Linked DNA regions of Homo sapiens: all the other regions are linked to region 2. The links are contacts of gene promoters, found by promoter capture Hi-C in blood cells and fetal thymus (Javierre and others, 2016). All regions are on one chromosome and are shown on one strand. Each heading gives the region's core, a stretch centred on a gene start or on the middle of the fragment in contact. The rest is flanking DNA. Distances are from core to core; before and after follow the strand shown. Region 1 overlaps LOC124904628 (a long non-coding RNA gene). Region 2 holds the start of PCP2 (Purkinje cell protein 2). Region 3 overlaps LOC124904628 (a long non-coding RNA gene).

Region 1 (4,417 bases), core at 1,603-4,102, 170 kb before region 2:
GTTGGGGAAATAATAGCCTAACTAAAAATCTTAGAAGGAAAAGCGCCAGGCGCGGTGGTTCACGCCTGTAATCCCAGCACTTTGGGAGGTCGAGGCGGGAGGATCACTTGAGGTCAGGAGATCGAGACCATCCTGGCTAACACGGTGAAACCCCGTCTCTACTGAAAATACAAAAAATTAGCCGGGTGTGGTGGCGGGCGCCTGTAGTCCAAGCCAGGAGAATGGTGTGAACCCAGGAGGCGGAGCTGGCAGTGAGCCGAGATCGCGCCACTGCACTCCAGCCTGAGCCACAGAGCGAGACTCCGTCTCAAAAAAAAAAAAAAAAAAAATCTTAGAAGGAAAAATGAAGACATTAGATGTTCGGAGGGACTTTTGAAAAATTCTGACATATTTCTGGGGATATGGAAGGCCACATGCTTAGGAAAGACCTGAGACAGCCCTAAGCTCACACCGCTGGCCGACTTCGAGGCTCTGTGTAAGCAGGAAGTGAGAGCTAAAGCACAGTTGTAAATTTCCTGGGTGAATGTTGAAGGTGTGTCCCTAATAAGTACACAGAGCTCCCTGGCAAAGACTGGCAGACTTCCGATTCCAGACATTCAAGGAAATCTCTGTCCAACCACTAGCTAACCATGAAGCTAACTGAGCAAAGACTTCAGTAGCCATGACAGAGAATATAGACTTTACAGAAGTAGTTTAGAAAAGTCATTTAACAGGCCTGGCACAGTGGCTCATGCCTGTAATCCCAGCACTTTGGGAGGCTGAGACAGGTGGATCACCTGAGGTCAGGAGTTCGAAACCAGCCTGACCAACATGGTGAAACCCTGTCTCTACTAAAAATACAAAAATTAGCCAGGTGTGGTGGGGTGTGCCTGTAATCCCAGCTACTCAAGAGGCTGAGGCAGGAGAATCGCTTGAACCCAGGAGGCAGAGGTTGCAGTAAGCCGAGATCACGCCATTGCACTCCAGCCTGGGCGACAGAGCGAGACTCCACCTCAAAAAAAACTATTTTTATAGTGACAGGGTCTCACTATGTTGCCCAGGCTGAGCTTGAGCCCCTGGGCTCAAGTGATCCACTGACTTTAGCTTTCCAAAGTGTTGGGATTACAGGCATGAGCCATCACACTCGGCCAGCTGTTGGCATTTAGAATAGTCTTTCTAGCAAGACCAATATTCCAGGACCATAAAAGCTGACTGAATATCTGTTCTAGGATGAGGGATAGGCTCCAGGGATTCCTTTCTTCCCTGGAAGGTTGACTCTTGTGTGTTGGGGAGTGGGGCAGGGGGGTGGGCTGGGGCCAAGGGCCAGGGAGGACAATTTGGTCCTGACTCTCTTATTTGGGGTCTTTATGGATCTGCTCTAACACCAGCCAGTTAGAGCCAGGAGACTGCAAGCTGGGACCTGTGCATTGATCAGGTATGCCTGAGGCCAATGGTGAAGGGAGGATGGACCCTTTGAATCCAGTTATTTGGCTCTCTGGGCTCCTGCCCTGAGGTTCCCTCCAGCCCTGCTGCCCCAGCATCTAAGCCTGGAGTACCAGGGGCTCGAGGGCATGCGTGAGCCATGGACAGGATCCTGGGGAAGTTCCAGCTTAACCTGGGGGCCTCTTCCTTCTGCCCCAGCCACAGCCGGTACTTACTCAGCTCCACCCCCAGGAAGAGACTCCTGGGCTTCTCCTGTCCACCTGTGCTTCCATTGTACATTTGTCACTACAACCTGGAAGAGGCTCTGCCGTTGAGGTTGTCAGTCAGCCTGGAAGTCAATCCTGTCAGTTCGTCTCTGTTGCTGTTCAGTGAGTCAGAGATCTCCACTTGATCATCAGTAAGTTAGACTAGATCTGTCTGTGGATCTTCCAAATTGCCACTTAACCCAGCTCAGCAAGCAGTTAGGCCACCAGGTACGCATTTCGACTTCCATCCCCCACCTGGGAGTCTTTCTCAGCTAGTTACTCTTTGAGCTAGGATGCATGATGGCCTGCAAAGATATCCAAGTCCTGGCCAGGCATGGTGGCTCACATGTGTAATCCCAGCAGTTTGGGAGGCTGAGGCGGGCGGATCACCTGAGGTCGGGAGTTCGAGACCGGCCTGACCAAGATGGTGAAACTCTGTCTCTACTAAAAATACAAAGTTAGCCAGGTGTGGTGGTGCATGTCTGTAATCCCAGCTACTCAGGAGGCTGAGACAGGAGAATCACTTGAACCTGGGAGGTGGAGGTTGCAGTGAGTTGAGATCATGCCATTGCACTCCAACCTGGGCAACAAGAGTGAAACTCCTTCTCAAAAAAAAAAAAAAAAAAGATATCCAAGTCCTAATCCCTGGATCCTATGAATGTCACCTTATATGGCAAAAAGAGACTTTGCAGATATGATTGCGATTTTAAGATAGAAAGATATTGTGTGCTAAATAATCTGTCTAGTCACTACCTCTGGTTCCTGGCAGGGGGCGTCTAAACTCTTGGAATTTTCCAAGTAATAGAAGTGTCTTAATGGCCAACAAACATATGGAAAAATGCTCAACATCACTAATGATCAGGGAGATGCAAATCAAAACCACAATGTGATACCACCTTACTCCTGCAAGAATGGCCATAATCAAAGACTCAAAAAATAATAGATGTTGGTGTGGATGTGGCAAACAGGGAACACTTTTACACTGCTGGTGGGAATGTAAACTAGTACAACCACTATGGAAAACAGCGTGGAGATTCCTTAAAGAACTAAAAGTAAAACTACCATTTGAGCCAGCAATCCCACTACTGGGTATCTATCCAGAGGAAAAGAAGTCATGATACAAAAAAGATACTTGTTCACACATGTTTATAGCAGCACAATTCGCAAGTGCAAAAACGTGGAACAAACCTAAATTTCCATCAGTCAACGAATGGGTGAAGAAACTGTGGCATACATATAAAATGGAATACTACTCAGCCATGAAACGGAATGAATTAATGGGATTTGCAGCAACCTGGATGGGACTGGAGACCATTATTCTAAGTGAAGGAACTCAGGAATGGAAAACCAAACATTGTATACTCTCACTCATAAGTGGGAGCTAAGCTATGAGGATGCAAAGGCATAAGAATGACACAGTGGATTTTGGGGGCTCAAGGGGAAAGGGTGGAAAGCTGACGGATAGAATACTACAAATTAGGTGCAGTGTATACTGCTTGGGAGATGGGTGCACCAAACTCTCATGAATCACCACTAAGGAATTTAATCATGTAACCAAATACATGTTCCCCCAAACCTATGGAAATAAAAAAAAAAAAGAAGCGTCTTTATTATTCATGGGGGCCCTGGACCATAACTGAGCTTATACCAAGGAGGTGACTCAGGATGGGGGCTGGTCATGCCAGAAACACCAACCACCAAGGTTGGGATTTTTAGCCACCTGACCTCCAGGAAGGGGAAGGGGCTGAAGGTGGGGTTCAATCATGTAGATAATGGTTGGATCAACCCCACCTACTTTTTAATCCTGCCTATTTTTAAATACAAAACTAGCCGGGCATGGTGACACACACCTATAATCCCAGCTACCAGGGAGGCTGAGGCACGAGAATCCCTTGAACCTGGGAGGTGGAGGATGCAGTGAGCTGAGATTGTGCCACTGCACTCCAGCCTGGGTGACAGAGTGAGACTCCATCTAAAAAACAAATAAATGAGGCCAGGCGCGGTGGCTCACACCTGTAATCCCAGCACTTTGGGAGGCTGAGGCGGGTGGATCACGAGGTCAGGAGATCAAGACCATCCTGGCTAACATGGTGAAACCCCGTCTCTACTAAAAATACAAAAAATTAGCTGGGCGTGCTGGTGGGCACCTGTAGTCCCAGCTGTTCCGGAGGCTGAGGCAGGAGAATGGCCTGAACCTGGGAGGTGGAGCTTGCAGTGAGCTGAGATCACGCCACTGCACTCCAGCCTGGGAGACAGCGAGACTGTGTCTCAAAAAAAATAAAGTAAATAAATAAATAAATAAATAAATAAAACAAAACAAAAAAGAAGAGCTCACCAGAGCCAGCAGCCTGAAACAAAAGTGCTGGTGGAAAGGTTTATGGGGTGCCAGTTTAGTCAGTCACCCCTGTGTAGGACACCTATGGAAAACTGTAGGGGGCCCTTAGGAGAATCATCTCCGCAAGCCATTAAGTTCCCAGGCCAGAGGGCATGACCTGCTCTGCGGCTTTACACAGAATGCTCTGGGCTGACACACTCCCTTGAAGTGTTGGAACGTGACCAGACATCCTAGCTCCTTGTAAAACCGGCCCCCACCAGCTGCAGCCCGATAAGTTAAAGACTGTCTTAGCAGTTAGACATATGCTTTTAGCTTAAAGGAAATTCATATAACCGCCACTGCTCTACATCTTTCCAATGACGTACGCTCCCGCTCCTTCACCGTTTCATCCCAGCTGCTTCTTAGATCAAAAGAT
Region 2 (4,744 bases), core at 984-3,483:
GGGAGGAGCCCCGAGCTTAAGAAGGCTGGAGGGTGGGGGCAGCAGGGGCCAGACTTCTGTAGGACAAGGTCAGACTGACCCATCCCAGTGCCAGGATGCAGGACTTTCAGTGCTAAAAATAGGACAGTCACAGGCAAACCAGGACGGTTGGCAACCGTAGGTAGGAGTTTGAGCTATTTCTTCCTTTCCTTTCCTTTTCCCTTCCTTTCTTCCTTCTTCTCCCTCCTCCCCATTTTTGTTTGTTTTTGTTTTGTAAAGAGACGGGTCTCGCTCTGTTGCTCAGGCTGGAGGGCAGTGGCACGATCATAGCTCACTGCAGCCTCGACTTCCTGAGCTCAAGGGATTCTTCCACTTCGGCCACCCAAGTAGCTGGGACTACAGGTGCACGCCACCGTGCCCGGTTGATTTTGTTGTTGTTGTTAAGAGACAGGATCTCCCTATGTTGCCCAGGCTGGTATCAAACTCCTGGGCTCAAGGGATCCTCCTGCCTTGGCCTCCCAAAGTGTTAGGATTTTAGGTATGAGCCACCGCACCCTGCCCCTTCCTCCTTTTGTAACAGCTTTACTGAGATATAATTCACATACCATACAACTCGCTGACCTAAGGTGCGTAAGTCAATGGCTTTCAGTATTTTTGGAGTTGTGTGTCCATTACCACAATCCATTTTAGAACATTTCCACAACCCCTAGGTGTTTGGGTTTTGTCTTCTCAAGAGTTTTGAGCAGGGGAAGGCGGGGAACCCTCCAGATCCTGGGGGGATGGAAGCCAGGACCGCCTCCAGCTTCTCAGCCTGACCCCTTGGGGGGACAGAGAGCTGTTAGGGCCAGCCACCCCACCACTAACCCCCAAAAGATATGAAGTACTAATCCCCAATACCCCACAATAGGATCTTATTTGAAATGGGGTTAGTATAGATATTAGCAGTGAGCATGAGGTCACACTGGAGTAGAGTAGGCCCCTAATGCAATATCACTGGTGTCCTTGTAAGATAGTTATATGTCTGCCTGGTTCTGTGTAGGTGGTTGGGGGGGTGGGGAAATGGGTATATGAAGACTGGGACACAGAGGGAGAATGCCATGTGACCACGGAGGCAGGGAGTGAAGAGCTGCAGTGACAAGCCAAGGACATCAAGGACGGCAGGCCACTGCCAAAAGCCAGGGAGGGGCAAGGAGGGCTCCTGAGACCTGGTTTTCAGAGGGAGCACAGCTCTGCCAACACCTTCATTTCAGGCTGTGGCCTCTGGAACGTTGGCTCAATAAATTTGTTAAAAAAAAATTTTAAAGGCTCAGCATGGTGGCTCATGCCTGTAATCCCAGCACTTTGGGAGGCCCAGGCAGGAGGATCACATGAACCCAGGAGTTTGAGACTAGCCTGGGCAAAATAGTGAGACCTCATCTCTATATAAAAATATATAACAAAAGTCAACTTATGTGTTTTAAGCCATCTGGTCTATGACACTTTGTTCTGGCAGGCCTAGGAAAGGGATACACGTACTGAGGAGGGGGACACTTCATTGGCATAGAGGGAGAGAGTGTGAACTTGGCCTTTTGTGGAACAGAGGAGGCTCGGGCAGAGGTGGTGATAGTGCAGCCCATTCATTCTGAGATGAAACTTCCACTGGTTTCCGTAAAGGCGTCTTGGGGAGGGAAGGGAAGGGGATGGGGACCTCCCAGTGGTATCCCCTGCTTGGGCACTGAGGGAAAGCCACAGTGGCTCGGGGGAAAAGGCAGGGACGTCCTCTCCCCGCCTGCCTCTGTCCCCAGGGAGTCTCGCCTCCTGTTCCCACCTGGGGCTAGGGTGATAGAGGAGAGGAGATAGCTCAACCTGGCATTTAGGTGGTGTGGGAACAGGAGACCCCAGACTTTCTTGTTTTGGGGTCTGGGGCAGGCAACCAGGCTCCAGGGACAGTGAGTTGAAGGAAGGGTGGCTGGGAGACCCCTTGACTTGCTGCCAAGGAGACAGAGCTGGAGCTAGGGTGGCCGGTGGTGTCTGAGGCAGGTGCAGAGAGGGAGGGAGGGAAGGGGCCTTTGACTCCAACCTCCTTTTTCTGTACCGACTGCAGGTGGCAGCTGCCCTTTCAGGAGCCAGTGGGGGAACCTGGGTGGCTGGGTGGGGACACCTGCAAGTCCTCCCTAAGCCAGCTACCACCCTACACTGTTGGCCTCCCTTCTCCAACTGTGGGGATGCTGCTCAGGCCTTTTGTGACATCACACCTGAGAGTCCCTGGGGTCCAGTCATTGCTGCTGGGCACAGCGAGGTCCAAGCTCAGGTCGCCCTGCCCCCTACCCACCATGCCAGATCCAGCATCGTTGTGGGCAAACAATTATCTGGATGATCTTTATGGGGCTTAAGCTTGGGTGGGAGCAGATGGGGCATGAGCTGGGGATTTGGGGATGGGGGGAATCCACACCCCCACGTCCTGGACGTTTAAAAGGCCCTCTCTGGCACTGGGCCGGGGCAGAGGCCAGCAGAAAAGTGACTGGAGTCCAGGGACATGATGGATCAGGAGGAGAAGACGGAGGAAGGCTCAGGCCCCTGTGCCGAGGTGAGAGGGCCCTGCCCCCACCCCACCCCCAGCTCAAGGTCTCAGAGCCCATGATTGACAAGACTAGTTTGTAGGGCACCTAATTAACGAGTGAGTCTCCTAGGACCCCCTGACCCAGTTGTGGCTGTAGAAAGGGGCTGGTGGGCTTGGGGGTCTGAGTGCCAGGCCCCAGGGCAGAGGGCAGGGCTCTCCGTGTGGACCCCTATTGATGGGAGATGCTGGGACCTGGGGGTAGCTCCTGGGCCATGTTTCCCTGATTCGTGTCCCAGCTCCCAGGCCACACTCATCAGGCCCCAATCTAGGACGGCGGGACACGCATCGGAGCCTGTCCCTTGAAGCGGTACCACGTGAAGTGGCACTGCTGGCCAGGGCCCCTGGGGCGGGGGCCGGGATTGGGAAGGAGACTCATGTCTCATTCAGAACAGCTCTGCAGAGAGGATCGGCGGGGACCATGGTGAGAGCTGAGGAAGTGGGGACGGCAGGCCCCGGGGTCAGGGTGTGAGCAAGCTGGCTAGGAAGTTTGGGGAGGGGCCCCCAAGCTGAAGGGCCAACCAGACTGAGCGAGTCTGTCCCCAGGCGGGCTCCCCAGACCAGGAGGGCTTCTTCAATCTGCTGAGCCACGTGCAGGGCGACCGGATGGAGGGACAGCGCTGTTCACTGCAAGCCGGGCCGGGCCAGACCACCAAGAGCCGTGAGCATGGGCACGGGGGTGCTGTCCATGGGGCGTGAACGGGGTGGGAGTGCAGGGCAAGTGGTCATCTGGAGGGCCTGGGGGCACGGGATGTGGGAGGTGGTTGTGCACCCTGAAGCATCTGTGTGGGGGTGAAGGGGTAGGGTTGGGGGCCCCCACTCCGGCTGTGTCCTCCCAAGTCTGTGAACGTCCACGCAGAGAGCGACCCCACCCCCGAGATGGACAGCCTCATGGACATGCTGGCCAGTACCCAGGGCCGCCGCATGGATGACCAACGTGTGACAGTCAGCAGCCTGCCCGGCTTCCAGCCCGTGGGGTCCAAGGTAGGTGATGTTCTGGCGATGTCGAGGAGAAACCCGCCAGGCAGTGCTCTCCGATCCTGCCCTCCACCCCAGCCAGGAGGGAACAGGGCCTGCCCCATCTCTGTCCATCCGCTGCCCTGACTTCAGATGGGAGGACCAAGGCCCAGGCAGTGGCTAGAGGGGCCCAAGGTTATACAGGGGCCATGCTAGTGTAAGACCCATGGCTGGAACTTGTGGCTCCTGCCCCCAAGTCTGAAGGTTCTGGGGAGGCCAAAGGGAGAAAATAGGACCCCTTCCTAGGAAAGTATCCCAGGGAGGAAGTCACGTAAGCTCACACATAGGATATATACATCTGTATACTCACATCTGTTGACTTCACACATACACGAAGCTTGGGTTCTGATCAAGATCCCAGCGAGGGCCCCAAGACCTGCCACCTCACACTCAAATGCCACCCTAAATGGCAGATATTGAGGGTAAACATAGACCAGTGCTCACAATGAGGTGGGACACGGTGGCTACCTGCACCCTCTCTCCATTGTTCGCCACCTGTGGCCGGCACTGCCCTTGAGCCCTCCCCCTGGCTGACCCCTCTTCATCCACAGGACGGAGCACAGAAACGAGCTGGGACCCTCAGTCCCCAACCCCTGCTCACCCCTCAGGACCCGACCGCTCTCGGCTTCCGTCGGAACAGCAGCCCCCAGCCCCCGACACAAGCCCCCTGAGGGCCTGAGGCATCCTGGGTCTCACTCGGCCCCCAAAAACTGATAAAAGAATAAAACACTTAAATGAATAACAAGGAACTGAGTATATGTATATTTCATCAGGGGAGGGGCTAGGACTCCCACTTGGAGGCCTCAGGAGTTCTGCTGGGCGTCGCGAAGGAGCTTCTCCTCCCGCCGCTTCCGTAACCTCTCTTTGAATTCCTCTATCTCTTGAAGCTAGGGGTGGAGAAGCGGGTGGGACAGGAAGGGGGGAGGGGCACACACCTCAGAGCCGGGACCACCCCCCCCCGCCCACCTCTCCCACCACCCTGCCCCAGACCACGGCTTCAGGGTTCAGTGTCTTCACTGGAAGCCCCCTGCCAATTACAAAGGGGTCCGCGTGGGATCCGCTTCACTCTTCCAGGAGAAGGCAATAAGGAAACCATCTACTCCTCTGCTCTCGGTTCCTTACTCATGGCTGAGAGTAAAATGTTTCTTTTTG
Region 3 (4,748 bases), core at 152-2,651, 190 kb before region 2:
TTGTTAAAAACTGGACATTTGAATATTTGTAATGTGATAAATTTGGATGTCAGATTCTCCCACTGTCCCAGGGTTTGCTGGTTTGTTGTTTGTTTTATTGTTAAAGACCGTAGTAGTTTTGGCTTAATGACTTTCCAAAACTATTCTTGCAAAGACTATATTACTTGTCGCATGTGGTCACTGAAGTCTCTATTCCTTAGCTTGTGTTCAGCTAGTGTTTTGACAGATTTTCTTGAATACCAGGAGCTAAAAAAGCAAGCAAACCAACCAAACAAAAAATCTTTCCCTCGCTCAGTCTTTGCAGATTGGCCCTGTGCTGGAGCACTCTTTCAACATTTAACCCAGCTTGCCCTGAGCCTAGGGATCAGCTGAGCATAACTTAGGGTCTTCTCAGGTCTTTTCTGAGCATGCATCTTGCTGTGGGCATAACCCTGTGTTTATAAATCCCCCTATGCATGCAGGTGCTTCTAATTTCCCCAGGAAACTCTCCCCAGCTTTTGCTCCTGAGCCTTAGGCCGTCTATTGTGTGTTTTGATTGTAATCTTTGGAACAGACATCTGTGGTTTGTTAGTTTGGCTTGCAGTGTTTTTGAGCAGTGCCACCACTTTTCCAGCCTGAGTTCCGAGGCAGGAAGACCAGAGATGAGCACCTTGTCCTTCAGGTGGCTCCCAGACAGCTTAGAGCGGACATACACTATCATCTACAAATAAAGTCTGCTCTGCTCCCTCTGGAAGGAGGAATGAGAGTCTCATGCTGGGAGTGTGGGCTTCCCTCTTCCCACTACTGCTGTCACACAAGGGAGGGCAGTGGCAAGTGGGGCAAACGCAAGTCGAAATATCAAAAGCTTTTGATCATTTTGAAGTTGTCTTTCTTCTTGATTCAGCATTCACTGGACTACCGTAAACCTTTGACTGTTTCCCAGAGTTCTGACAAAGTTGTATCTGACAGTTTCTGCTTGTTTTTTGATGTTTCTGTGGGGAACGCGGGCTTGGAACTGTCTACTTTGTCATTTTGCACTGATCTTGCCACTCTTAACCATCATGTGAACAAGCCAGAGGTAGCCTGAAAGGTGAGAGGCACATGGCTCAGTCACCCTCATGGCCTAAACTGTCAGCCGACCAACCTCCAGCTGTGAGTGAGGTTATCTGTTCCAGTTTCCTTTCTTCTTTTCTTTTTTCTTTCTTTCTTTCTTTTTTTTTTTTGAGATGCAGCTTCTGTCTCATTGCCCAGGCTAGAGTGCAATGGTGTGGTCTTGGCTCAATGCCATCTCTGCCTCCCGGGTTCAAGCAATTCTGCTGCCTCAGCCTCCCAAGTAGCTGGGATTACAGGCTCACGCCACCACGCCTGGCTAATTTTTTGTATTTTTTTTAGTAGAGATGGGGTTTCACCATGTTGGCCAGGCTGGTCTTGAACTCCTGACCTCAGGTGATCCACCTGTCTCAGCCTCCCAAAGTGCCGGGATTACAGTCATGAGCCACTGCACCCAGCCGTGTTCCAGTTTTCGATTGCTGTGTAAGAAACCATCCGAGAACTCAGTGGCATAAAACAGCAATCATTTTTAATATGCTCATGGTTTTTGTGGGTCTGAAGTTTGGACAGGGCATAGTGGGGATGGTTTGTCTCTGATCCATGACATCTAGGGCTTAAGGTGGGGAGACTTGAAGAGTGGGGGAGTGCCTCCAGTGGCTGGGAGCTGGTATCTGGTGGCTGGGATTATCTGGTAGCTTCTTCATTCACATGTCTGGTTCCTGGGCTGGGATGACTCAAATGATTGAAGTCTCTTGGGGGATCGATCTCTTTCTCTCTCTCTCTCGCTCTCCTCCTGTAGCTTCAGGGACTTTCCATGTGGTCTCTCCACATGACATCTCCATCACTGCAGTCTCAGGGTAGTTGAACTTTTTACATGTTGTCTCAAGGCTCTGGAAGTGAATCTTCCTGCAAACAAGACAGAAGCTTGCATGATGTGTTATGATCTAGCCTTGGAGGTTATATAATATCACTTCTGCTCTACTCTATTGGTTGAAGCAATCCAAGCCTGCTCAGATTCAAGGGGAGGGGATAGTGAGTTTGCCTCTCAAGAAGAGCTTTGTTAAAGTATTTTCAGCTACATTTTCAAGTTGCCAAAGCATTCAAGAGTAGCCAGATTTAGCCAATCCATCAGCTGACCACAGATGCATAAATGAGCCCAGCTATACCCAGAAGAACTTTCCAGCTGAATCTGACCCAAATTGGTGAACCACACAATCATGTACCAAATAAATTATTAGCCCAAGCCATTAATTTTGGGAGCATTTTGTTATGCAGCAATAGCGAACTGATACATCCTTGTAGGTGTATGCCTACAAGCATACTCACTAAGCCTAATATTGGCCGACCACATCCAGGACCCCTACACAGTGATGCAAGCCAGCAGATTTATCCAGTGACTCTTCTATGTCTGTGTTCACCCCACAGTTTATCACCCCTGGTTTTACCTGTCATGACAATTACACCCATCCACTGCTCCTTGACTATTCTGTGAATAGAATTCCTGAACGTAATAAAAAATTGTTGAATTGAAGCAATCTCTAGCTATTCCACTCTAAGACCACATAGCTTACCCCATTGAATCTTTCATTTCACCAATATTAATTTATCACCTACTATATGCCATTCACTCTTTTTTCAGTTTGTTTTTTGAGACAGAGTCTCACTCTGTCACACAGGCTGGAGTGTAATGGCATGATCTCAGCTCACTGCAACCTCTGCCTCCTAGGTTCAAGTGATTCTTGTGTCTCAGCCTCCTGAGTAGCTGGGATTACAGGTGCACGCCACCATGTCTGGCTAATTTTTGTATTTTTAATAGAGACAGGGTTTCACCATGTTGCCCAGGCTGGTCTTGAACTCCTGACCTCAGGTGATCCACCTGCCTCAGCCTCCCAAAGTGCTGGGATTACAGGTGTGAGCCACTATGCCCAGCCTCCATTCACTCATTAAAACACTGGAGAAGTGATGGTTAACATGAACCAAAGTGTTCCTGCTCTAATAGACTTATATATTTATATGCTGGTGGGGTGTAGTAAGTAGCTTCTGAAATGGTCCCCACCTCCTAGTATTCATGGCCTTCTGTGATCCTCTACTGGTGATTATCTTGCTTCTAACCAATAGAATACTTCATCATTGAGAAACTGTCACTTCTGAGATTATATTCCAAAATATTCTGACTTCTATCTTGCTAGCAGACTTTTCCCCTTGATGGCTTTGATGAAGCAAGTTGCTATGTTGGAGAAACCCATGTGGCAATAAGCTGAGGGTGTCCTCTGGCCAACAGCCAGCTAGGAACTGAGATAATTTGCCCAACAGCACAAAAGGAACTGATTCTGCCAACAGTCACATGAGTGAGCTAGGAAGTGAATCCTTCCCCAGTTGAGCCTTCAGATGAAACCTTAATCCTGGCCATCTCCTTGATTGCCGTCTTATGAGAGACCCCAGGCAAAGGATCCAGGCAAGTCATGCCCAGATTCCTGACCCATAAAAACTATAAAATAATAAATGTATGTTGTTTAAGCTGGGCCATTTGTGGCAATTTGTTTGTGGCAATCAATAACTATTAGGTGTGGGGTGGGGGGAGGCGGAGTTGAAACAAACATAGTAATAATTTGGAAATTAATCACAGAGTGATACAAATCATCTGAAATAGGAAACCTGAACAGATTAGATATTATAGGAGCCCATCTGTGGTCAGCTTGCAGGCTGACTAGATCTGGCAACTTTGTGGATGCTTTGGCAATTTGAAAACAGCTGAAAAGAAGGTAATTAGAGATCTAATAAGAAGAAAGGCACCAGGCCCAGATAGTTTTATGGGCTCACCCTGGTTGTCTCCATACCCTACCTTGTGGCCATTTAGTTTCTTTCTTTTTTCTTTTTTTTTTGAGACAGGGCCTCATGGTGTCACACAGGCTGGAGTACAGTGGCACAATCTTAGCTTGCTGCAACCTCCACCTCCCAGGCTCAAGCCATCCTTCCACCTCAGCCTCCTGAGTAGCTGGAACTACAGGCATGCACCACCATGCCTAGCTAATTTTTGTATTTTTAGTAGAGATGAGGTTTCACCATGTTCCCCAGGCTGGTCTCAAACTCCTAAACTCAAGAGATCCACTCGCCTTGGCCTCCCAAAGTGCTGGGATTACAGGCATGAGCCGCTGCACCCAGCCATGGCCATTTAGTTTCTACAACCAGTTTGGACTTTCACTCTTGGCTGATTGGAACTTGGTTGGTTTCTCACTTAGTTCCTGCCTTGGCTCCTTCCTCTGACTTTGCTACCCAGTGTAACCTCACTGGCTCCAGCTCTGGAGAAACTTGAAAGACAGTCCAGCTGTGACTGTCTTTCCTTCTTGCCTTCCCAGTAGCAGGAGTGAATTTGGATAGTAAAGACTTGTAAATGACAGGGACATTTTGAGGGCAGGCAGAAGAGGAGCCCATGAAGGAGATGGAGAAGGAGCGGTCAGGCAGACAGGAGGAGAACCAGGAGGTGAGGCCATCAGGGAAGTCTTGGGAGAGAGGAGTTTCAAGGAGGAGGGAGGGAGTGGCCACCCCATTAATGAGTGGAAACAAGATAGAAACAAGTCTGGTTGGCTTTCACAAAGGAACGGTAGTTACTCTCCTTGGTCATTTCAGGAAAGTGGTGGCAGGTGGGGCAGCCATCAGAGGGTTAGAGGGAGCAGATGAAGGCAGAAGTGACAACCCTTTTTCTTTTTCTTTCTTTCTTT

What was found. The method cuts DNA at HindIII sites, captures the fragments that hold promoters and counts their contacts. A CHiCAGO score of 5 or more calls a contact.
Region 1: a contact is called between a fragment that was not itself captured here and the fragment with the promoter of PCP2 in region 2, in 1 of 17 cell types (neutrophils). The highest score is 6.3, in neutrophils.
Region 3: a fragment that was not itself captured here is called in contact with the fragment with the promoter of PCP2 in region 2 in 1 of 17 cell types (monocytes); the score reaches 5.2 in monocytes.

The regions. Positions count from the first base shown.
Region 1 is chr19:7,801,214-7,805,630 of GRCh38, reverse strand. All of the region lies in intron 1 of LOC124904628 (a long non-coding RNA gene), which reads right to left. Among named protein-coding and RNA genes, the nearest start is that of EVI5L, 27 kb to the left of the region's middle. The HindIII fragment of the contact is 7,100 bases long and covers 1-4,417 here.
Region 2 is chr19:7,631,208-7,635,951 of GRCh38, reverse strand. PCP2 (Purkinje cell protein 2) reads left to right here and starts at 2,233. Exons shown (of 4, transcript NM_174895.3): 1 at 2,233-2,545; 2 at 3,122-3,236; 3 at 3,435-3,559; 4 at 4,144-4,337. The coding sequence starts at 2,495. The coding sequence ends at 4,263. It overlaps PET100 (PET100 cytochrome c oxidase chaperone), which reads right to left. Exons shown (of 4, transcript NM_001171155.2): 4 at 3,996-4,479. The coding sequence ends at 4,396. It also overlaps a transcript of STXBP2 not described here. The HindIII fragment of the contact is 15,856 bases long and covers 1-2,354 here.
Region 3 is chr19:7,816,570-7,821,317 of GRCh38, reverse strand. LOC124904628 (a long non-coding RNA gene) reads right to left here. Exons shown (of 2, transcript XR_007067118.1): 2 at 1-1,935. Among named protein-coding and RNA genes, the nearest start is that of EVI5L, 11 kb to the left of the region's middle. RefSeq lists an enhancer at 1,696-1,935. The HindIII fragment of the contact is 1,109 bases long and covers 847-1,955 here.